Linked DNA regions of Homo sapiens: regions 1, 2 and 4 are each linked to region 3. The links are contacts of gene promoters, found by promoter capture Hi-C in human tissues and cell types (Jung and others, 2019). All regions are on one chromosome and are shown on one strand. Each heading gives the region's core, a stretch centred on a gene start or on the middle of the fragment in contact. The rest is flanking DNA. Distances are from core to core; before and after follow the strand shown. Region 1 overlaps GTF2IRD1 (GTF2I repeat domain containing 1). Region 2 holds the start of GTF2I (general transcription factor IIi). Region 3 holds the start of CLIP2 (CAP-Gly domain containing linker protein 2). Region 4 overlaps GTF2IRD1 (GTF2I repeat domain containing 1).

Region 1 (6,263 bases), core at 1,258-3,757, 270 kb after region 3:
AGCATTGGTTTTTTGTTTTTTGTGGGTTGGTTTTTTTGTTGTTGTTTGTTTGTTTTCTATTTTTTGAGACAGAGTCTCACTCACTCTATTGCCCAGGCTGGAGTGCAGTGGCACCATCTCAGCTTACTGCAACCTCCGCCTCCCGGGTTCCAGCGATTCCCCGGCCTCAGCCTCCTGAGTAGCTGGGATAACAGGCGCATGTCACTACACCTGGCTAAATTTTGTATTTTTAGTAGAGACGGTGTTTCACCATGTTGGTCAGGCTGGTCTCGAACTCCTAACCTTAAGTGATCCATCCACCTTGACCTCCCAAAGTGCTGGGATTAGAGGCGTGAGCCACCATGCCTGGCCTTTTGTGGGTTTTTTTTGAGACAGAGTCTCACTCCAGGCTGGAGTACAGTGGTGCTGTCTCGGCTCACTGTAGCCTCCACCTTCCAGGTTTAAACGATTCTCCTGCCTCAGCCTCCCGAGTAACTGGGATTACAGGCGTGAGCCACCATGCCTGGCCATGAGCATTTGTTTTAAGAGACAAGTCTTTCTTTAGCCCAGGCTGGAGTGTAGTGGCACAATCATAACTCACTGCAGCCTTAAACTCCTGGGCTCAAGCAATCCTGCTTCAGCCTCCTGAGTAGCTGGGACTGCAGGGGCACGCCACCACACCTGGCTAATTTTTACATTTTTTGTAGAGAAGGGGTCTCGCTATGTTGCCCAAGCTGGTCTCCAACTCCTGGGCTCAAAGCGATGCCCCTGCCTCAGCCTCCCAAAGTGCTGGGATTACAGGTTGAGCCACCATGCCCAGCCTTGAGCACTTTTTAAAGTCACGATGGCTTTCTCCACCTGTCATTTGGAAAGGGAGACAGGTCAGTGCAGTGGCCGACGGGAGAGGCCGTCTGGTGGGTTTGAGGCCAGCTCCTCCTGTTACTCCCTGTGGCCTTGGCAGCCGGCTGTGCTATTTAAGGGGAAGCACTGTCGCTACTCTGGCCTGGGACTCAGGGGCTCTGCCCAGCTTCTGCCTCTCTAAGTTTACTGCTGGGAAGTCACTTCCCCTTTCAGAACCTGAGTTCTCCCATAAAGAGGAGGGGCCTAAATGCAGTCCGAAGCCTTTTCTAGCTCCTGAGACTGTGGTTCAAGGCAGGGCTATGCTTCCCCTCCCAGCCCTGGCCCCGTGACCCCAGCTCTGTGCCTGGCACTGTACAGAAGCCTAAGAGATGCCCACCGCCAGAGCGGGCACCAAATCCTCATCTACTGGGGACCCCAGGGGTGCCCTCCCTGAGAGTTTGGCCTTTGGGCTCACTCCCAGGCAGAGACTCCTCGGAGTTGCTGCTTGATTACCCCTGTGACAGAGAGCTCATTACCTCTCCAGGCCCATTACCTCTCCAGAGAGCTCATTACCTCTCTGCTCCATGGCCTACCCTGCCATCCCCCGACAGCCCCCTTCTGGCCAGCATGATTTTCCCAGTGTCCTCTACCCACCACAAACCCCAGCCCCACAACAGGCTTGCTCTAACAGGACAAGTTGTGCTGAAGATGGGGCCTTCAGAAGCAGTGCTGTATGACAAAGAAGGTTGACTCATGTCTGGACAGGGCTTTCTGGAGTCTGTGGAGCTAAAGACATTAGCATAATACAGAGCTGGGCTTGGTCACTGGTGCTTCCGACTGCAGTAACACAGCAGCTCTCAGACGTGAGCCGTAGATCTCAGACCTTTCCAGAAGCTTGGAGTTCTTGCTTCGTAGTGGGCCCCGACTGTTTCTACTCTTTTCTTTCATTTTGAGACGGAGTCTTACTCTGTCACCCAGGCTGGAGTGCAGTGGTGCTATCTCAGTTCACTGCAACCTCTGCCTCCTGGGTTCAAGCCATTCCCCTCCCTCAGCCTCCCAAGTAGCTGGGATTATAGGCACCTGCCACCACACCTGGCTAATTTTTGTATTTTTAGTAGAGACGGGTTTCACCATGTTGGCCAGGCTGGTCTCAGACTCCTGACCTCAAGTGATCTGCCCTCCTCGGCCTCCCAAAATGCTGGGATTACAGGCGTGAGCTACTGCACCTGACCTTGTTTCTACACTTTAAACCAGCTCCACGGGAGGCCACCTGAGGCCACCTGCTCCAATCCCAGGCAGTGACAATCGTGCAATGTCCCTGGAGCAGGAGTGAGATATCAGATGGACCTGTTCAGGACTGGGGGGGGTCTCACTCCCAGCTGGATCCTTCAAGCCCAGCGCAGCCCCCCAGATTCCACATGTGGGGCGGCAGGGACTCCAGGCCTGAACTATGCATAGCCAGAAGGGTCCATTGCAGGGCTGTGTAGACTGAGGCCCAGAGAGGAGGGCTGAGCAGTCCCAGAGATGCTTGGAGGGACCTCTGTGATAGCCTCGCTTGTGTTTTCCAGGCCCGAGCTGCTCACTGAGGGAGTCAAAGAGCCCATCATGGATAGTCAAGGTACCCAGCGCGGGGTCGGGAGCCATGGTGTGGGCGGGCAAGGGAGGGCCCCAGGCCTCTGCCACCAGCCCCTCCTCCTGCTGCCTCTGTCCTGCTCCCATCCTGGCCCTGGCATTCTCCCCACACCCCCACATTGGGTTTCCCCTAACGATGCCATCTTGGGTCCCAGGAACTGCCTCCTCACTTGGCTTCTCTCCCCCTGCCCTGCCCCCAGAGAGGGATTCCGGGGACCCTCTGGTGGACGAGAGCCTGAAGAGACAGGGCTTTCAAGGTAAGGTTGAGCTCACGGGGAGGTCTGTTGTCCCAGCACCAGGACATTGACCTGGTTTGGGTTTGGAGGGCCAGGCTGGAAGTGGGGAGGAGCTGGCCCCCAACTTCAGGGCCTAAGGGACCAGGCAAGCCAGGTTGGCAGCCCAGGCCCGGCTGTACCCTGCCAGCTCTGTGTTAGAGACTCCAGGGGAGAGGGGGTGCCTACAGGTGGACGGTCGGGGGAGCCCAGGAGCCTGCCTGCCCCCTCCCTGCCCCACCCCCCAGAGGTAGCTGACACGCCCACTCCTTTTTCAGCAATCAGCTGTGGTCTTAGTGCTTTGAAATCAGAATAGGAGCCAGACGCGGCACCTCACGCCTGTAATCTCAGCACTTGGGAAGGTCAAGGTGGGAGGATCGCTTGAGGCTGGGAGCTCGAGACAAGCCTGGACAACATAGAACCCGTCTCTATGTCTATTTTTAAGAAAAGAAATCAGAGGCCGAGTGCAGTGGCTCACGCCTGTAATCCCAGCACTTTGGGCGGCCGAGGCAGGTGGATCACTTGAGGCCAGGAGTTCAAGACCAGCCTGGCCAACATGGTGAAACCCCGTGTCTACCAAAAAAATACAAGAATTAGTTGGGCGAGGTGGCGTGCACCTGTGATCCCAGCTACTAGGGAGGCTAAGGCGGGAGAATCGCTTGAACCTGGGAGGCGGAGATTGCAGTGAGCCGAGATCATGCCACTGCACTCCAGCCTGGGTGACAGAGCAAGACCCTGTCTCAAAAAAAAAAGAAAGAGAGAGAGAGAGAGAGATGGTGGTCTGGGATCCCTCCAGCACATGCTGGCACTTGTCTTTGTTTGTTTGTTTGGATGGAGTTTTACTCTTGTTGCCCAGGCTGGAGTGCAATGGCGTGATCTCAGCCCACTGCAACCTCCGCTTCCCGGGTTCAAGCAATTCTCCTGCCTCAGGCTCCCAAGTAGCTGGGATTATAGGCACGTGCCACCACACCCGGCTAATTTTTGTATTTTTTAGTAGAGACGGGGTTTCACCATGTTGGACAGGCTGGTCTCGAGCTCCTGACCTCAGATGATCTGCCCACCTCAGCCTCCCAAAGTGTTGGGATTACAGGCATGAACCACTGCACCCAGCTTTTTTTTTTTTTTTTTTTTTGAGACAGAGTCTTGCTCTGTCACCCAGGCTGGAGTGCAGTGGTGCGATCTTGGCTCACTACAACCTCCACCTCCCAGGTTCAAGGGGTTCTCTTGCCTCAGCCTCCCAAGTAGCTGGGATTACAGGTACGCACCACCATGCCTGGCTAATTTTTGTATTTTTAGTAGAGATAGGGTTTCACCACATTGGCCAGGCTGGTTTCCAACTCCTGCCCTCAGGTGATCCTCCTGCCTCAGCTTCCCAAAATGCTGGGGTTACAGGCATGAGCCGCCGCGCCCGGTCACACTTGGGCGTTTTTAATGAACACTTTCTGGGTGAGGGTGTCTTGGTGGCTCATGCCTGTAATCCCAGCACTTTTGGAGGCTGAGGCAGGCAGATCACTTGAGCTTGGGGGTTCGAGGCCAGCCTGGGCAACATGGCGAAACCCCATCTCTACCAAAAACACAAAAAAGAAATTAGCCAGGTGCGGTGGTGCACGCCTGTGGTCCCAGCTACTCAGAAGGCTGAAGCAGGAGAATCGCCTGAGCCTGGGAGGTGGAGGTTCCATTGGGAGCCGCCAGGCCCATCCCCTGTGTCTGTGGGGACTGCCCATCCTCCTCCATCTGCTAGATCAGCTGGGCTTCCATTCCCTCGCTTGTCTCCAGCCCCCTAGTGACTTCATGAAGCCCCCGCCCCCTGCCTGCCAGCCCAGGGCACAGGACTCCGTACTCTATGGTGTCCCTCCCCTCCGGGGCTTATTTATTGGTTTGGTGGTTTTCAAATGTCATCAATTAACTTAATTTCCAACTCATCACTGTTGTGGCAACAGTGCATGTCCTTCTGAAAAAAAGACATCTCCATCAACATGTCGGTGCTGAAGGACCTGAGGGGCCCACTCCAAAGATCCTTTAATTGCCGGAGAAGGAGTTCCCCATAATTAGAAAATCATCTTCCTTAAAAGTCACCAAGTGCTTTTTCACTCAACAGCCCAAACCCATAATCGTTTTGCGCTTTGCAGAAAATTATGACGCGAGGCTCTCACGGATCGACATCGCCAACACACTAAGGGAGCAGGTCCAGGACCTTTTCAATAAGAAATACGGTAAGCAGTGCAGAACCCCCGGGGAGGGACACGCAGCTGCTGTGCACAGAGAAGTGGGAGGCTTCCCAGTTCCAGCCGAGGGCATTTCTGGGGAAACAATTCACCCCTTTACATGTATTTCTTGAGCATATACTACGTGCCAGGCACTGTCTCAGGCACTGGGGATATTGCTGTGAATAAAACAGACACAGTCCCTGTACTCATGAGCCTTGCAGACCAATGAGGTGAGATACACTTTCAAGAACTACACACAGAATTTAATAGACAAGGGCCCGGCACAGTGGCTCCTGCCTGTAATCCCAGCACTTTTGGAGGCTGAGGCAGGTGGATCACTTGAGCTCAGGAGTTCGAGGCCAGCCTGGGCAACATGGCAAAACCCCATCTCTACCAAAAACACAAAAAAGAAATTAGCCAGGTGCAGTGGTGCACACCTGTGGTCCCAGCTACTCAGGAAGCTGAAGCAGGAGAATCGCTTGAGCCTGCGAGGGGGAGGTTGCAGTGAGCTGAGATCGCGCCATTGCATTCCAGCCTAGGCAACAAAAGCGAAACTCCGTCTCAAAAAAAAAAAAAAAAAAATGGAGCATATGACATGGGAGCATATTGGTGTGGCTTTTTCTTTCGTTTCTTTTTTTTTTTTTTTTTTTTTTTTTTTTTTGAGACAGGGTCTCACTCTGTCACCCATGCTGGAGTACAGTGGCGTGATCATGGTTCACTACAGCCTCAAACTCCTGGGCTCAAGCAATCCTCCTGCCTCAGCCTCCCAAGTGGCTGGAACTACACCCCACTGGGCACTACCATGCCCAACTAGTTTTTAGAAATTTTTAGTAAAGACAGGGTCTTGCTGTGTTGCCCAGGCTGATCTCGAACTCTTAGACTTAAGAGATCCTCCTGCCTTGGTTCCCCAAAATGCTGGGATTACGGGCATAAGCCACCATGCTGGCCTTTTTTTTATGTTCTGATCAAACAGCTCAGATTGTAATGCCTATACCTTTCCACAGTGCTACACTACATAAGAGCTTTCTCGTACCATTCACTCTCCTGCACGCATGTCTTTCCATCACATCCCCGCAATCCCATGTACACACACCCCACGCTGCCTCTCACTCCTGACGGGCAGGACCCTGCCTCTCGCCCACAGGGGAAGCCTTGGGCATCAAGTACCCGGTCCAGGTCCCCTACAAGCGGATCAAGAGTAACCCCGGCTCCGTGATCATCGAGGGGCTGCCCCCAGGAATCCCGTTCCGAAAGCCCTGTACCTTCGGCTCCCAGAACCTGGAGAGGATTCTTGCTGTGGCTGACAAGATCAAGTTCACAGTCACCAGGTACT
Region 2 (5,509 bases), core at 2,825-5,324, 370 kb after region 3:
GCCTCCCGAGTAGCTGGGATTACAGGCACATGCCACCATGCTCGGCTAATTTTTTTTGTATTTTTAGTATCGATGGGGTTTCACCATGTTGGCCAGGCTGGTCTCAAACTCCTGACCTCGTGATCCTCCCACTTCGGCCTCCCAAACTGCTGGGATTACAGGCATGAGCCACCGCGCCAATCACATGCTATTTCAAAGCAGTCAACGAAGCTCTAAGCCCAGAGTCTAAGCGAAGATGCATCTGAGTTGGTGGAAGTGCTCACGTGGGGTCCAGATCCATCTCTAGCTTGGCCAAGGCCCATTTGACCTGGCTTTGTTTCCCACCAAACAGAAGAATGGAAAAGTCACATCATATGGACGCTTATCTGAAGACTAAGCTAAACATTAACAAAAAGAGAGGGGGAAATAATTGAAATAACATGGATGGTTCTGCCAGCTGTTGGACTCTGTACTTATGTCCTGACTGACCATGAGCTGAGAGCCGCAAATCTGCTCTTGCTGAAGCCCCAATCCAGTCTGCATCTCTTGGTATATGCATCCTGTGATTCTAGTATTTTTTTTTTTTTTTTTGAGACGGAGTTTCGCTCTTGTTGTCCATGCTGGAGTGCAATGGCATGATCTCGGCTCACAACAACCTTTCCCTCCCAGGTTCAAGCGATTCTCCTGCCTCAGCCTCCTGAGTAGCTGGGATTACAGGCATGCGCCACCACGCCCGGCTAATTTTATATTTTTAGAAGAGATGTGGTTTCTCCATGTTGCTGAGGCTGGTCTCGAACTCCTAACCTCAGGTGATCTGCCTGCCTCGGCCTTCTAAAGTGCTGGGATTACAGGCATGAGCCACTGTGCCCAGCCCGATTCTAGTCTTTAAAGGAGGATTTCCTGGCTGGGTGCAGTGGTTTACGCCTGTAATCTCAGCACCTTGGGGGGCTGAGGCAGGCAGATCACTTGAGGTCAGGAATTTGAGACCAGACAGACCAACATGGTGAAACCCTGTCTCTACTAAAAATCCAAAAATTAGCCGGGCATGGTGGTGCATACCTGTAATCCCAGCTACTCGGGAGGCTGAGGCAGCAGAATCGCTTGAGCCCAGGAGTTGGAGGTTGCAGTGAGCCAAGATCGCACCATGCACTCCAGCCTGGGCACCGGAGTAAGACCCCGTCCCCTCCCAAAAAAATCAATAAATAAAATAAAGGAGGACTTCCTACTACATCATTTTTAGACACAAATCAACTATTATTTTTCTTCTGTTGCCCAATCCCCAAAACAGTAATCTGATCCTACATTTGAAAAAAAACCTGGGCCCAGTGCAGTGCCTCATGCCTGTAATCGCAGCACTTTGGAGGCCACGGCAGGAGGCTTATTTGAGCCCAAGAAGTCAAGACCAGCCTGGGCAACATAGTGAGACCCGTCTCTACAAAAAACGAAATTAGCTGGGTGTGGTGGCACATACATGTTGTCCCAGGCATTTGGGAGGCTAAGGTGGGAGGATGGCTTGAATCTGGAGTTGGAGGCTGCAGTGAGCTGTGATCGAACCACTGCAGTGCAGCCTGGGTGATACAGTAAGACCCTGTCTCAAAAACAGGAAAAAAAAAAAGTAAAACAAAACCCCAGCTTTGCAGAGAGATAGTATCCAAAGTGATTTATAACAATGGCCACAATTAATGTAGTATCTATGCCACTAAGATGAAGGAGAAATTGGTTGACAAGTGTTCCAACAAGCCGCAGTGAGCCAGACCTTAATGAAGACAGAACACGCAAGATCTTTATGACTGTAACACATGAATTTGAGGGTTACAAACCTTAATGGCAAAATGCTCAGAAAAACGCTTTGTCTGCATACACATTGCCTCAACAGAGACAGCTTTCTGACTAGAGGTAATTCAAAACCAGCTCATGTTGACCTAACCGTTTTAGGAATTGCTTCAGTCTCAAAGAAGTTGGAGTTGTTTATGAAGAGGCAGCAAAATTCCACTGTGGGCCCGGTGCGGTGCTCACGCCTGTAATCTCAGCACTTTGGGAGGCTGAGGAAGGCAGATCACTTGAGGTCAGGAGTTCGAGAACAGTCTGGGCAACATGTTTAGTAGAAACCCGTCTCTACTAAAAATACAAAAATTAGCTGGGCGTGGTAGTGCACGCCTATAATCCTAGCTACTCAGGAAGCTGAGGCAGGAGAATCACTTGAACCCGGGAGGTAGACGTTGCCGTGAGCCGAGATCGCGCCACTGCACTCCAGCGTGGGTGACGGAGCGAGGCTCGGTCTCAAAAAAAAAATTCCACTGTGAACCACTAAACAAATTCATAGAAGAAAGGAACTACCTTCCAAACGTTTTCACGATGATAAGAGTCATCTTGGCTAAATAAACTTCTGCCTTGCTAACTCACTTTGTAACATCCCCCCAAATTCTACTCCACGACTCCACTATACCCAGGAAATCCTTTCCCTGACCCCTCCAGGTGGAGAAACCACTCTCTCAACAAAAGATACTCACTGAAGTCCACAGCAGCTGAAATCTGCATCTCGTAGGCTGGCTGCTCTTACTAGAGTGAGTTATAGGCTTCTCAAGAGTTAAATTTGTTCCTAAATATATGCCAGTGGCACGTGGTATTGGGAATAGAGAATTTAATTAAATATTACTAAATGTCAATGAAATACAAGTGCAAAAAGAAAGTTGCTCTTGTGCAAACTTAATGAATGACTTTCGAGACAATCGACAAAGGAGAGTCACAATCTTATTAGGCAAGGACCGAAGGGATCCTAGACATTGTCCGGGAAATCGCAAAAATTCAGGCTTCTGTAATCAGATTGCTTCTCCGGTGAGCTTTACGCTCTCCATGTATTTTTCAAAAAAAATCCAACATGAAAATTCTAGAGGAGGCTTTATTGGGTGCGGTCTGTGCAAGAGAGACGATGGGGAATGCCAATCGGAGAACCCAGATTGAAAGGAAAGGTTTTTGGAACCCACATCAAAAGACTGGCTGCTCGGAAAGTTTTCTCGCTAGCGACAAAGGCTTGGAGGCTGGAAAAAGCGTCGTGGTCGCCACCTACCGAGAAGCGGCGGGTGGGGGGAGGATGGCCGTCGTGGCCCGAATCCCCAGTGGGTGGTACTGGGTGGGGGGGCGGGCGGGAATCAAAAAACCACTCAATCTCGTGCTTTACATAAACATCTAAAAATCGTCGGCCTCGGGGTTGTAAAGTTTTGGAGTTTAACTTAGGTGAACAGTAATGTCTCTCCATTTTCAAAACCCACCGGCTAATTCAAGTTGAGAAGCAAAAAATAGTGGTAGGGGGAGGAGTTTGAGTTAAATCGCATCGCGGTTGACAGAACAAAACAGGAGCTACGAGTCAGGATTTCTGCTCCCACTCCCTTGCAAGTTTCCTTCCAAATCCTGAGGGAGAGATAGAGGCGGAGGGTCTGGGGGAGGAATTAAAACACAAGGTCTCCTCCCCTCTCGCCTGTCCGAACTTGGGGGCAACGGTCTCTTTGGAGGCCAGCTTGGAAAACACTAGAGAGGAGTTCTTTGTGTCCTGGAGGGTGGTGCAAGGCGGAAGGACTCCCCTTTTGCAGAGCAAGGAGGGCGACGGCCCAGCCCGGGGCTCCCCGGCTTTTGCAGCTTCCCTGCCTCGCAATTTGCAAGGAATGTGGGGTGCAAGAGCAAGTGGCGGACTTGGACGGCGGCTGGCGCTCGGTGGGGACGACGCCGGAGCCACCACCCGTCCAGATTTCCGTTTCTGCACCCCGGCTCCCCTCCCCCACCCGGGCGGCCGCGCAGGCCCCAGGTGCAGCCATGTTCTCGCTCCCACCACCCTCGCCTCCATTGACAGCCCTTGCTGGAGAGGGCCGGGCGCCGCGCTTGCCTCGTCCTCGGGTTCGGGGCTAGCCGGCGCGGTGCTTCCTGGGAGTTGTAGTCCACGACCGCCGCCGCCGCGTTGACGGGGAACGCATCCGAAACTACAACTCCCGCTGGGCGGCGCTGCGGATGCGCAGGCGCAACGCGCCTTCGAGGAACAAAAAAAAAAAAAAAAAAAAAAAAAAAGAAAAAAAAGAAAAAAAAAAGGAGGAGGAGGAGGAGGGTGAGAGAGAAGCTGGGAGAGCAGAGAAAAGGGGCCACCGGTCGCCCCCCCGCTTCCCCGCACGCGCTCTCCAGCCGCGGCCGCCCGCCTGCCGCGGTCACCCCGGCCTCTGCCTCTGTCCCCCAGTGATCGGATCAAGGCGCTGAGCGAGGCCCTGCCTGCGGGGCGGCCATGCGGCGGTGACAGGAGCGCGACCGACACGCACGGGCCCCTCGCCCCCTCTCGCCTCCCGTCCGCTCGCCAGCTCCCCTCAGCCGAGGCTGCTCCGCGGCGGCCGCAGCCCGCGCGCGGCCCACACTCGCCTCCCCTCGGCACCCCCGGCCCCGGAGCTGCCTGGAGGCGGCCGCACTCGGGTGAGTCCCTCTCGCCTCATCCCCGCGCCCCCCGCCCCCGCCTCGGGGGCCATTGCGAGCGGGGGCCTTTATTAGAGACTTTGCCCCGCCGGGGCCTGCAGGGACAGGGGCCTGGGAGCCGCGGCCCGCCGCGCGCGGTGTGGGGCCTTGGGGGGCGCCCGTGCCGCCTCCCCCTACCCCCACCCCCACCGCCTCGCCGGGTCTCGAGCCCCGCCGGCCTTGGCAGTGGCCGAAACGAGGCGATGGGGGTGGGGCGGCACGGACGCGGTCGCGGGGGACGACAGTGGCACGCGCGCGCCTCAGTGCGCGTGGGGGAGGGGCGCGCGCGCCGACCGGCGTGCGGTGGGGGGGCGCCTCGCGCGTGCGATCCCGCGCGCGAGCGAGCGAGCGGCCCTGCGGGCTGCGCATGCCCCGCCGCGCTGATTGGCCGGCTAGGCGGTGCGGGGGCGCGCGCGGTGCCAGGCCCGAGCCGTCGTGGGGTCGCGCTCGCCTGGTGTATCTGGGGCTCCTGCGCCGGGGCAGCAGACGCGCGGGATTGGCCAACCGGCGCGGGGGCGGGGCCGCGCGTTGCCTGGTAACTGCGGCGGGCGGGGGAGCGGGAGCGCTGTCCCCCGCCCCGCCCCGCTCCCAGGTGGAGTCCGCAGTGGGCTTTGTCCCGGGCCGGCCCGGCGCGCCTGCCCCGCGGGGCCTGTTCTTTGGGGGAAATAAACACAATGACCGGAAGGAAAACTTCAGCTTTAGGCCATGAAAATTAAGCCGTCTGGGTTCAGCCAGCACCCAGACGACGGGAGTGCAGAGGAAGAAGGAAAATGAAATGGAAAAAGCTGTCTCCTTCCCGCTCCCCGACTTCTCCACTTTTTCTTAATCCAGCTTTTGCTTTTTCGTGTAGCGAATTTTGTCCTCCCTAGGTTATGGATTTGCGCTGATTTGCGGCTGGGGATGTTCACAGGTGGGGTGCTGTTGGAGTAGTGTCCACTCTTGGCGATGCGCAGCTCTTGCTGACTACTGACCTCCTTTTTTTAAAAAAAATTATTTGTGGAGATGCGTTCTCACTTTGTTGCCCAGGCTGGTCTTGAACTCCTAG
Region 3 (5,499 bases), core at 529-3,028:
CTCCACACCAACTGGGCACCCCCTCAGGGCTGACCCCATGCCCAGCCTCCATCATTACAGCATTGCATGTTCGCTGAACTGAATTGAAACACTCTCCCCAATTTACAGATGGGGAAACTGAGGTCAAAATGTTTAGGCCAGGCACGGTGGCTCACAGCTGTAATCCCAGCACTTTGGGAGGCTGAGGTGGGAAGATCATCTGAAGCCAAGAGTTTAAGACCAGCCTGGACCCCAACATAATGAGACCCCATCTCTATAAAAAACACAAAAAATTAGCCGGGCATGGTGCATGCCCGTAGTCCCAGCTACTCTGGAGGCTGAGGCAGGAGGATCATTTGAGCCTGGGAGTTTGAGGCTGCAGTGAGCTGTAATCACACCACTGCACTCCAGCCTGGGTGACAGAGTGAGACCCCTTCTCTAAAAAAAGGTTCACTCACTTCTCAAAGATTATGGATACCAAGACAGTTGAGGGGTGGTAATGTTAACTTAGTAAGTTCATTCATTCATTCAACAAATATTACTGGATGTCTACCCTCTGCCAAGCATTGCACTGGGTCCCTTAGGGGATAGGAACAAGATCGTATGTGGCACTTCTCTCCCGCAGAACAGTGGTCTCACCATACAGACCACAACCTCCCCCAACACCCACATTCCTGCACTCAAGGGAAAAGCAGGGACATTTAAGCTGTGCTTTGAAGGGGGAATATGATTTGTCAAACAGAGAAAGGGGGCAGGGCAGGACTGGTAGAACGGCCAGCTAGGTCAAAGGCATCCAGGCGAGCTTATCAAGGGGGGACAGAGGGAAACCAAGCCACAGAAGCCAACCGCAGCCTGGGCATGGACAGGGGCTGGGGCTTGGTCACTGTTTAGTTCCTGAGCTGTCACTTGGCATCTGCCTCTCCACGCAGGAGGGGACCTGGCAGCTGCCTCAACTCCTCTGAAATAGCAGTACATGCATCCTGTCCTGGGGAGGGTTCATTTGTATCTTGGAAGCTGATCACCATGAGATCCTTTTTTTTTTTTCTTTTGGGACGGAGTCTCGCTCTGTCACCCAGGCTGAAGGGCCGTGGCTTGATCATGACTCACTGCAGCCTCGACCTCCTGGGCTCCAGCGATCCTCCCACCCCAGCCTCCCCAGTAGCTGGGACCGCAGGCGCGCGCCCAGCTAATTTTTGTATTTTTTGTAGAGACGAAGGTTACGTTGCCCAGGTTGTTCTCGGACTCTTGGCCTCAGGCGATCTGCACGCCTTGGCTTCCTGAAGTGCTGGGATTACAGGCGTGAGACACTGCCCAGGCTATGAGATCCTTGATAACCATGAGACCCTGTGCCACAGTTCCCCACCCACGCTGGCCCCAACACAGACCTGAAGTTTTCGCCCCAGCTGCACTGTCCCCCTCCTCATCCTTTCTGTCCAGCGCCAACAGCATCTCACCTTCCCAAGCTGCCGTCCTTCCCAATGACCAGAGACATCTTTGCAAGCATAGCATGGCTGGAGGATGCGTTTCACCAAACGCGATGTAAGCACCACCAGGTGCCCAGCGCGGAGGTGGATGTGGGCGAACCCTGGACGCCCCACAAAGGACAGCTGCGGCCTGGGAAGGGAAGGAGATGGAGCGGGGAGAGGGGGAAGAGGTTGCTCCGCGTTTTCCGCCCGCCCGCCTGCTTTCCGCGAGGCACTGAGGCCTGAAAACCGCGAGGCCGCCCACGCGCGCCTGACCCGCCCCCCCCTCCCGCCCGCCCCAGGCCCCGCCCTCCCGCGCCCGCCCCTGCGCCGGCCCCTTTTGTTCCCTCCCGGAGCCGGGCCGCTGGCTCCGCTGGCTCCGCTGGCTCCGCGGGCGCTCAGCTCGGCTCGGCCGCGGGGCGCGCAGGCGGCTGCTGGGCGGCCTCGGTGCGCGCCTCCCGCCTTCCCAGAGACGTGGCGCGAGGCCCGGGCCCTGAGCACCTATCGCGGGGATCCCCGGCGCCAGGAGGGGGTGCAGCCGGTGGGCAGCGCCGCGCAGGGAGGGGCCGCAGCATCCTCGCCCCCCAGCGCGCCCGGGCCCGAGAGGAGGAGGCCGGGGCTCTCCGGGCCTCCCGCCGCTTAGCCTGATGCTGGAAGGACGAAGGTAGGGGCTGCTGGAGGGGCCGAGGGAGGGGGTCGCGCGGGCAACAAAGGACGGAGAGATGCGGGGGGCGGCGGCCTGGCCGAAAGCGGGGCTGCGGGCCCGGAGGCATTGTCGGGGCGTGGGCGGGGGCGGGAGGGTTCGAGGCCGGCCGGTGGGCGTGGGCGGGAGCTGGCTGGGGTGTGCCCCAACTTCCCCGTTGCTTGTAGGAGAGGAGGGGGCACTGCTTGGGGTGCCAGGGTTGGGGGCTATTCCCGGGCTGCGGGTCCCCCTGTTGAAGGCATCACCAGCCTCATCGGGGTCCCTACCCTCGGACGGGGGTTTGGCCCTTCTGTTGGAGGGTCGCCCGTACCCCCTTCCAAGGGCAGAGCAAGACGGCTGGACGCGCCGCAGGGCTCTCTGGGCTCACAGAGCCTGGGGAGCACAGCCTGGTGGGCGCGGCCATGCAGCCCCCATCTCCAAACCTGGGGTCTGGGAGAACAGGGACTGCCCCCCTCTCCTCCCTGCTACACCCTCTGGGGTCGCCTGGCCGATGGCCTTTGCAAAACTTGGTTGAAGTGCTTGGCTGAGGTGGGGTAGGAGGAGATTGAGGCGGGCGGCTTCTCTCAGGGGGTGTCCCCCCAAGCTGGCGCTGGTGGCTGGTGAGGCAGCAGATTTTCTGCCCTCCTCCCGGGGAGGGGCGGCGGCCGCGGAGGATGCTTGGCTGAACCTTCAGGGCCCGCCCGTTTGGACCTTTCAGGCAGAGCTTGGGCCGAGCGGGTGCCCACTGGGCACTGCCACGCAGGCCCCAGCCCCACCCTGGGAAGGACGGGCAGAGGGAGCACCTTGGGGGGAAATCACCCACCCAGCAGTGTGTCCCCCAACGTCTGAGACCCCTCCTCTCACTTCTGGGTGAGAAGTGGGGGTCTGGGATGAGGGGGTCTGCCGTCACTCTTGCGCGATGCCTGAGGGAGGTGGGTGGGGTGGCCTAGGGCTGTGGGCAGAGGAGGAGGAGGGTGCGGGGAGCACCACGTGTGTGCTTCAGAAGCCTCTTCCCTTTCGGTTGTAAATGTAAACAATAAGCCCTTCATTCAGCTGCTGTTACCTGGCCTGGCACTTCTAGGGGCTGGCTGGTCCACAGGACAGCAGCCTCGGTGTCCCCAAAAAGTGCAGCCCCGGGGGTTGATGAGTGCATTAGTGGGGAAGCTGGGGGCATAGAGGGGGTCCCCTGGAGGATGGGGCAGACCAGGAAGCTTCATAGAGCATCTTGCAGAAGTTTGCTGCCAGGTTGCCTGAAGGGGGTTTCGTGCAGGAGAAATAGCGTGAATAAGGGCTTGGAGTCAGAAAAGGAGGCTATTGGGTTAGAGAAACAGCTTAGGATTTAAGGAACTTAGACCTGCGTTGAGCACAGGATGCATTCTTGTCTGCAGTGCCTTGCGGGGGAATGATGGGATTCTGGCTTCAGGACAGGTGGAGGCGGTGGAGATGGAGAGGGGCTCCAAAGGCAGAAGAGGCAGGTGGAGGCGCCTGGGAGGAGCCTCCTCCACACACACCTGTGTGCACCTGCAAACTCCAGCCCTCAGCACCGTGCAGGCTGGGAAGGTGGTGCCTGGAATTCTGCACTCAGAGCCCAAAGTCCCAGCAGGGGGAATTTACTCCAAGGAGCAGTAATCGCTTTCCGGCATCTGCTGTCTACCTTGGCGGTGAAGAGTTCAGATGCTGGAGCTTAACAGCCCGGGTTCAAATCCCAGCTCTGCCACTCCCTAGCTATGTGACCTTGCACATTGCATCTCTCTCTGCCTCGACATCCTCATCTGTAAAATTGGGATCCTTATGGTATCTGGCTTTTAGGGTTGTTAGGAGAACTGTGTGCCCTGTGACAGAGTAGATGTCCTATAAGTGTTGTTGCTGCCGTACAGAGTGGCTTCCTGGCCCCACTCACACACGTTTCAGGGAGAGGAGGCTCGTGCCCCTTCCAGGCTGTTTGTCCTTCTTCAGCACCCTTGCTGGTTAGCCCTGACCCGGCACCTGCTGTTCTCTGCCTCACTGCAGCCTCCTCCCTGGTCCTGCCTCCCTTGGTGATAGAAAGGCCATCTCCCCACAGCCCCAGTTGTCCCTGCTCCCCACCTGGCAGGCCTGCCCACGTGTGGTCCCCCAGTTCCCTCTTGGCCTCCCCTCCTGGCCCTGCCACCCTGACAGTTGATCCTGCCCTCTTTTTTTTTTTTTTTTTTGAAATGGAGTTTCACTCTTGTTGCCCAGACTTGAGTGCAATGGCGCGATCTTGGCTCACTGTAACCTCTGCCTCCTGGGTTCAAGCAATTCTGCCTCAGCCTCCCAAGTAGTTGGGATTACAGGCATGTGCCACCATGTCCGGCTAATTTTAGTATTTTTAGTAGAGACGGGGTTTCACCATGTTGGCCAGGCTGGTTTTGAACTCCTGACCTCAGGTGATCCACCTGCCTCAGGCTCCCAAAGTGCTGGTATTACAGGCGTGAGCCACTGCACCCAGCCAGTTCTGCCCTCTTGACACCACCTGCTCTACCTCCACTTCCATACACAGGGGAGGGAAGCTGCATTTGTGACCCTCAGATTCCCTGCTCATTGGTTCTTGTGAGAACTTCAGCTTTTGTGCAGGTTGAAAAAAAAAGTATATATTAAGTGCTTACTTTGTGGAGAATTGTTCTGAGCTTTTTTGAGACAGCATCTTGCTCTGTCGCCCAGGCTGGAGTGCAGTGGTGCCACCTCGGCTCACTGCAACCTCCACCTCCCAGATTCAAGTGATTCTCCTGCCTCAGCTTCTCGAATAGCTGGGACTACAGGCCCATGCCACCAAGACTGGCTAATTTTTTGTAGTTTTAGTAGAGGCAGGGTTTCACCATGTTGATCAAGCTGGTCTCAAACTCCTGACCTCAAGTGATCCGCCCACCTTGACCTCCCAAATTGCTGGGATTACAGGCGTGAGCCACCACGCCTGGCCTGGTTCTGAGCTCTTTAAATTCATTCCTTCATTTGTGGATATTTTAATAAGGTTGCCTACATTTTACAGATAAGAATATCCTGGCACAAAGAGGTGGCTGTGTCTGCCCTTGATGGATTTGCTAAGCACCTACTGTATGCCTGGGAGGCATGCTTCCTTCGGCCACACCATTCTACCCACCCTCTTCGGGTTCATGTCCCTGAACAATTATGATTCTGCCTTCTCAGACACCTATCCCTTTTGCTCAGGTGCAAAGTCCAAACACGCTATCTAGCTTTTAGGGTCCGCCCCCAGTTGGCTGTATCTTTCCACTGCAGCTCTCCCCATGCTCCCAGGCTGGGCACACCCAGGCTTGCCTCACCTAAGGCTGACGTGGCCCCTTTAATAAACTGTGAGGAGTGGGCATGGTTTGAGGAGCAGGGCTGGCTTTGAGGGTGGTG
Region 4 (6,187 bases), core at 3,471-5,970, 300 kb after region 3:
CCAAGTAGCTGGGATTACAGGCACCCGCCACTATGCCCGGCTAATTTTTTTTTATTAGTAGTAGAGATGAGGTTTCACCATGTTGGCCAGGCTGGTCTTGAACTCCTGACCTCAGCTGATCCACCCACATTGGCCTCTCAAAGTGTTGGGATGAAAGGCATGAGCCACCGCATGCCCGGCCCATTGCTGCTTTACAGATGAGGACATCGAGTGGTTCAGGGACTTGCCCAGGGTCGCGAGCTGATTGCAGAGCTGGGATTTGAACCCAGGCAATCAGTCTTGGGTAGACCACTGGGCTTGTGACCCTGGCCTTGAAGGGCCCGGTATTGCTCCTGCCCCTGCAGTGTCCTCAGCAGCTCTCTGAGGCGATTCTCTGATCCGTGTTTTTCCCGTGAGCAGATTAGACTCAAAGGTGACCGGGCATGCTGGAGCTGCCCTGCCCCACCTGAGGCCGAGGCCACCACTGCCCACAGCAGTCCTTGGGGAACTCCCTGGTGGCGACCTGGTGGTGGTGGCAGGAGCCTGGCTCTGTTGGGAAAGAGGACTCATGACCCCACCTGCAGCTCTCCGAGATGCTCAGCTGGTCTGGGCACGATGGCTCACGCCTGTATCTCAGCACTTTGGAAGGCCAAGGTGGGTGGATTGCTTGAGCTTAGGAGTTGAAGACCAGCCTGGGCAACATAGTGAGACCTTGTCTCTACAAATAACACAAAAATTAGACAGACATAGTGGCACACACCTGTAGCACCAGCTACTCAGGAGGCTGAGGATGGAGGATGGCTTCAGCTCAGGAGGCGGAGGTTACAGTGAGCTGAGATTGCTCCACTGCGCTCCAGCCTGGGCAACAGAGCCAGACCATCTCAACTCAAAAAAATAAATAAATAAATAAAGCTTGGCTGGGCCATCTGGGTTAGCAAGGATCTTAGCATTCTCCCTCAGGGCTAACCAGGGTGCGTGGGCGAGCTGTCTCGGTTGCAGCGGGGGCCACGATTCCTGTCGGGCAAGACTGGTGCCAGCCTGCACACCTCAGAGCCCAACAGGAATATCTGTTCAGATCGAGACGTTGCCCTTTCCCCTGCAGGGCACGGCTAGAGCACAGACACAAACCCAGTGTCAGGTCCCCAGACACGGCAGGGGACAGGGGAGTTGGTCTTCACCTGTGGTTCAGGTTCCCTCCCAGACAGTGAGTCACTTATGTGCCCAAGGAGCTGCCTCTGGTGCACTCACAGTTCCCAGAAGATCTGGGATGGGACTACAGGTGTGCACCACCATGCCCAGCATTTTTTCTTTTTTTTTGGTAGAAACAGGGTTTCCCTCTGTTGCCCAGACTGGTCTTGAACTCCTGGCCTCAAGCAATCCTCCCACTTCAGCCTTCCAAAGTGCTGGGATGACAGGCATGAGCCACTGTGCCCAGCCTGTAGTGCTTTTTGATATGTGAGATTAGATCCAGCAGGCCCAGAGTCCCAGTTGAGGAATGTGGAAACAGGCTCAGAGAGGTTGAGTGACTTTCCATACACCACACAGCATTAGGGATTAGAATCAAGATTGCCTTCCAGTCTGATGAGCCAGGGACTTTCCCCATACCTGGCCCTGGGGATCCCCCTTTTCCCCACTGTATGCAGGCATTCAAGCAGGGGCTTGTCCAATCCAGCTCCCACCAGAGCCTCCCCTACTCCATTTCCTTCAAAAACTCACGATTTAAAAAAATGTAGCCTGGGCAACATAGCAAGATCCCATCTCTACAAAAGATGGAAAAATTAGCTGGGTGTGGTAGCCCACACCTGTAGTCCCAGCTACTGCACTCCAGCCTGAATGACAGCAAGACCCTGTCTCTACCAAAAAAAAAAAACCACGTAATTCTCTTTACTCTAAATTAAATAAAAAGAAAGAGGTAGGAAAATGCAAGAACAGCTACAGAGAAAAATCAGTGTTCTTCCTGAGCTTGATGTTGACTGAGCTAGAGAATCCCACAGACAAGGTATATTGTGGGCCTTGCACAGTGTCTGCACGTAGTATGTGCCAAGCTTGTTTTTTATTTTTTAATTTTTGTTTGGTTGTTTGTTTGAAACAGGATCTAGCTCAGTCACCCAGGCTGGAGTGCAGTGGGGCAATCATGGCTTACTGCAACATTGACCTTCCAGGCTCAAGCAATCCTCCCACCTCAGCCTCCCAAGTATCTGGGATTACAGGCACACACCACCATGCCCAGCTAATTTTTCTTTTTTTTTCTTTTTTTTTTTTTTTTTTTGTGGAGACAGGGTCTTGCCATGTTGCCCAGGCTGGTTGCAAACTCGTGGCCTCAGTCTCCCAAATTGCTGGGATTACAGGCGTGAGCCACTACATCCGGCCAGTTCTTGGTGTTATTGACAAAGGCATTTAGCCCCACTCCACCCCTCCCACACTCCAGAGGTGGTCAGGACGCCTCCCCAAACTGCCAGCCCCCTCAGCCAGCCCGGCCCCACTTTCCTGACATGCACACTCCCACCACTTCTGGTCCACCGCCTGGGACCTGTGCCCCATATAGAATTGCCATAGTATCCTATCGACTGCCCCGTAGTGTCACTCCTGGTTAGCTGCAGCCTGGTTTAGGGTTGCACTTCTTCCCAGACCAGGCAAGACTTGGAAGGAAGAGGGGAAGTTTCCTGATTGGCTAAAGCATGTTGAGCACCTGAAATCACAGGATACTACAAGTTTCCTTGTGTCTTACTCACCGCTCACAACTGCCTTGGAGGTCCGTGTGATGAGCCCCAGCGTGCAGATGAGCCCACATCCTTGGAGCTTTGGGCCCCGTGTGGTGGTCACCTCCTCTGGGAAGTCCTCCCTGACTCCCAGCTGGGTCAGGATCCCTGCTATAGACCCCCGTGGGCCATGTAAACCAAAAGTGCCTGAAACAGGTCTCAATCAATTTAAAGATTTATTTTGCCATGGGGGAGGACACAGCCAGGAAAAAGAGACTCAAGCTGCAATAGGGTCTGTGGCCTGTGCTTTTTTCCAGAGTTTTGAGGACTTTGGTATTTAAAGGGGAAAGAGGGCCTGGGTACGGTGGCTCACAGCACTTTGGGAGGCCAAGCCAGGTGGATCACCTGAGGTCAGGAGTTCGAGACTGGCCTGGGCAGCATAACAAAACCCCATCTCTACTAAAAATACAAAAAATTAGCCAGGTGTGGTGGCGGGTACCTGTAATCCCAGCTACTCTGGAGGCTGAGGCACGAGAATCACTCGAACCCGGTAGGCGGAGGTTGCAGTGAGCCAAAATCATGCCACTGCACTCCAGCCTGGAAAACAGGGAGACTCTGTCTCGAAAAATAAAAAAATAAAGGGGGAAGAGGAATAGTTAATGATGTATTTATCCTGTGCTCAGTAAATCTGCCTTTTACATAAGATAAAGTAAATAGAGTAGAGGAAGTCATATAGGCATTTGTCTTGGGTAGACAGAGCAATGATTTCTATTCTTATCTTTGTCCCCTGCCTGTGAAGATAAGCTGTGAATTTACATGGCCAGGGTGAGGGAGGCCACCAGGGGAGCTAGGTGGCCTTCTATCTTGCAGCCATCTGTTTAGGAACAAAAGGCTATTGCGTGACTCAGTTCCCAAGCTTAACATTTCCCTTTGGCATAGTAAGTTTGGGGTCCCATGTTTTTTGTTTGTTTGGGTTTTTTGTGTGTTGTTGTTGTTTTGAGATGAAGTCTCGCTCTTGTCCCCCAGGCTGGAGTACGATGGCGCGATCTTGGCTCTCTGTAACCTCCGCCTCCCAGGTTTAAGCGATTCTCCTGCCTCCGCCCCCGGAGTAGCTGGGATTACAGGCACCTGCCACCACGCCTGGCTAAATTTTGTACTTTTAGTTGAGACGGGGTTTCACCACGTTGGACAGGCTGGTCTCGAACTTCTGAGCTCAGGTGATCCACCCACCTCGGCCTCCCAAAGTGCTGGGATTACAGATGTGAGCCACCGCGCCCAGCCTGTTTGGTGTTTTTTTTTTTTTTTTTTTTGAGACGGAGTCTTGCTCTGTCGCCTAGGCTGGAGTGCAGTGGCGCAATCTCAGCTCACTGCAACCTCCACCTCCCAGTTCAAGGGATTCTCCTGCTTCAGCCTCCTGAGTAACTGGGATTACAGGCATGCACCACCACGCCCAGCTAATTTTTTGTATTTTTAGTAGAGACGGGGTTTCACCATGTTGGCCAGGCTGGTCTGGAACTCCTGACCTCAAGTGATCCACCTGCCTCGGCCTCTGAGAGTGCTGGGATTATAGGCGTGAGTCACCGTGCCCGGTCTGGGCCTCGTCTTTGAGAGGCCTGCTAAGCTTCTTTCTGTCCTGCAGGTTTCGTAGAGCTCTGACTTTGAGTCTCGCTCTGTCCCGACACAGGAGAAGACAGAGGTGTGGCATTGTGGGCTGAGAGCAACAGATTAGAGGAAACTATCTTAAAGATTAAGCCTTCTTTCTACAGCTACTGTAGGGGAGCCTGGGCATGGTGGTTCACGTCTGTAATCCCAGCACTTTGGGAGGCCGAGGTGGGCGAATCACCTGAGGCCAGGAGTTGGAGACCAGCCTGAGTAACATGGTGAAACCCCATCTCTACTAAAAATACAAAAATCAGCCAGGTGTGATGGTGGGTGCCTGTAATCCCAGATACTCGAGAGGCTGAGGCAGGAGAATCACTTGAACCCAGCAGGCAGAGGTTGCAGTGAGCCAAGATCGCACCACTGCACTCCAGTCCAGCCTGGGTGACAGAGCAAGACTCTTCCAAAAAAAAAAAGAAAAAGAAAGAAACTGTAGAGGAATCTGAGACCTCAGGAAACCCAGGGCTCATGGTAGAGTGGAAAGACCAGGGCTTTGGGGTTGACACAGAGTACTCCTGGTGCTTAGAGGCTGTGTGACCTTGGGCAAGTTTCTTTACCTCTCTGAGCCTCTGTGTCTTTGGCTGCAGTGTCTAGGAAAGCATCTGCACACAGTGATGTGTGTGATCCAGGCCATCCTTTCTCTGTTCTGTGCATGCATGGCCATGCCTGCTGAGAATCCTGCCACCAAAGATTCCTCAGTGGCATGGGGACAGATGGAATGTGCTGTTGCTTCCCTGCAGGCTCTAGGAGCTGGTCCTTGGGCCCAGGACTCCATCACTGTTGTCTGCATGGATTTGGACAAGGGTGGCCTTGATTCTTCCCACATCCTAGTCCTGAAAGGAAGGCCCGTGTTGGGTCACAGGAGAAGACGAGGGTTCTAGGGGATGTGGAGCGTGGGGTCTTTGTGTGGCTGAATTAGAGGCATTACTCCACGAGATAGGGACACGGGAGGAGGACGTTGTCTGGAATGGCTGATGTTTGCAGTGTCTCTGGGCACGCAGGGGGGCTGGCGGGCCGTGCCTGAAGACAGATCAGCAACTCAGAGATGTGCAGAGATTGCTGAGTGTGGGTGTGGACGGACCAGGCCAGGGACCTGCAGGGTTTGGGAGGACCTGAGGTGGTGGGTGTTGGAGCCCTGGGAAAAGGAGGAACCAGGCCAAGCAGGTGCCCAGCCTCTGTCCTGTGGGAAGCTCCCTGCTCTTTGGGGCAACCCCCACATGGGGAACAGGGCCTCCATTCTGGCAGCTTGCGCACGGGAGGCCAAGCCACCCAGACGGGGTCAGCAGACTCTAAGCAGCACAGAGCACCACGCCAGGAGATGCAGTTCCCAAGGCAGCCTCCTAAACAGAAGTGAGCTCTTCCCAGAGTTTTCAAGATTAAAAGAGCCAGACACAGTGGCTCACAACTGTAATCCCAGCACTTTCGGAGGCTGCGGACAGGAGGATCGCTTGAGCTTAGGAGTTCGAGAACAGCCTGTGCAACAGAGAGAGACTCTCTCTACAAAAAATTTTAAAAAAACTTAGTCTGGCATGGTGATTCATGCCTGGAGCCCCAGCTACTTGAGAGGCTGAGTGGGGAGGATTGCTTGAGCCAAAGAGTTCAAGGCTGCAGTGAGCTATGATGGCACCACTGTACTCCAACCTGGGAAACAGGGTGAGACCCTGTCTCAAAAAACAGGAGTCAGGCTGGGCACAGTGGCTCACGCCTGTAATCCCAGCACTTTGGGAGACCGAGGCAGGCAGATCACCTGAGCTCAGGAGTTTGAGACCACCCTGGCCAATATGGCAAAACCCCATCTCTACTAAATATACAAAAATTAACCGGACGTTGTGGCAGGCGCCTGTAGTCCC

The links. Contacts are between HindIII fragments. The study calls those that stand out against the background at their distance.
Region 1: a contact is called between a fragment that was not itself captured here and the fragment with the promoter of CLIP2 in region 3, in 2 of the 25 tissues and cell types used here (dorsolateral prefrontal cortex and lymphoblastoid cells).
Region 2: a contact is called between the fragment with the promoter of GTF2I here and the fragment with the promoter of CLIP2 in region 3, in 1 of the 25 tissues and cell types used here (spleen).
Region 4: a fragment that was not itself captured here is called in contact with the fragment with the promoter of CLIP2 in region 3 in 1 of the 25 tissues and cell types used here (heart right ventricle).

Annotation. Positions count from the first base shown.
Region 1 is chr7:74,552,787-74,559,049 of GRCh38, forward strand. GTF2IRD1 (GTF2I repeat domain containing 1) reads left to right here. Exons shown (of 27, transcript NM_005685.4): 18 at 2,388-2,437; 19 at 2,652-2,708; 20 at 4,853-4,936; 21 at 6,075-6,258. Among named protein-coding and RNA genes, the nearest start is that of WBSCR23, 23 kb to the left of the region's middle. The HindIII fragment of the contact is 4,062 bases long and covers 477-4,538 here.
Region 2 is chr7:74,653,644-74,659,152 of GRCh38, forward strand. GTF2I (general transcription factor IIi) reads left to right here and starts at 4,075. Exons shown (of 35, transcript NM_032999.4): 1 at 4,075-4,425. RefSeq lists silencers at 3,625-3,784, 4,155-4,334, 4,355-4,644, 4,715-5,234 and enhancers at 3,865-3,984, 4,005-4,054. The HindIII fragment of the contact is 40,491 bases long and covers 1-5,509 here.
Region 3 is chr7:74,287,629-74,293,127 of GRCh38, forward strand. CLIP2 (CAP-Gly domain containing linker protein 2) reads left to right here and starts at 1,779. Exons shown (of 17, transcript NM_003388.5): 1 at 1,779-2,106. It overlaps LOC107986742 (a long non-coding RNA gene), which reads right to left and starts at 1,679. Exons shown (of 2, transcript XR_001745024.2): 1 at 1,434-1,679. RefSeq lists silencers at 1,698-2,167, 2,188-2,257 and enhancers at 2,133-2,777, 2,778-3,421. The HindIII fragment of the contact is 6,317 bases long and covers 1-5,222 here.
Region 4 is chr7:74,581,143-74,587,329 of GRCh38, forward strand. All of the region lies in intron 22 of GTF2IRD1 (GTF2I repeat domain containing 1), which reads left to right. Among named protein-coding and RNA genes, the nearest start is that of MIR10525, 12 kb to the right of the region's middle. RefSeq lists enhancers at 1-375, 6,058-6,187 and a silencer at 338-632. The HindIII fragment of the contact is 6,527 bases long and covers 1,458-6,187 here.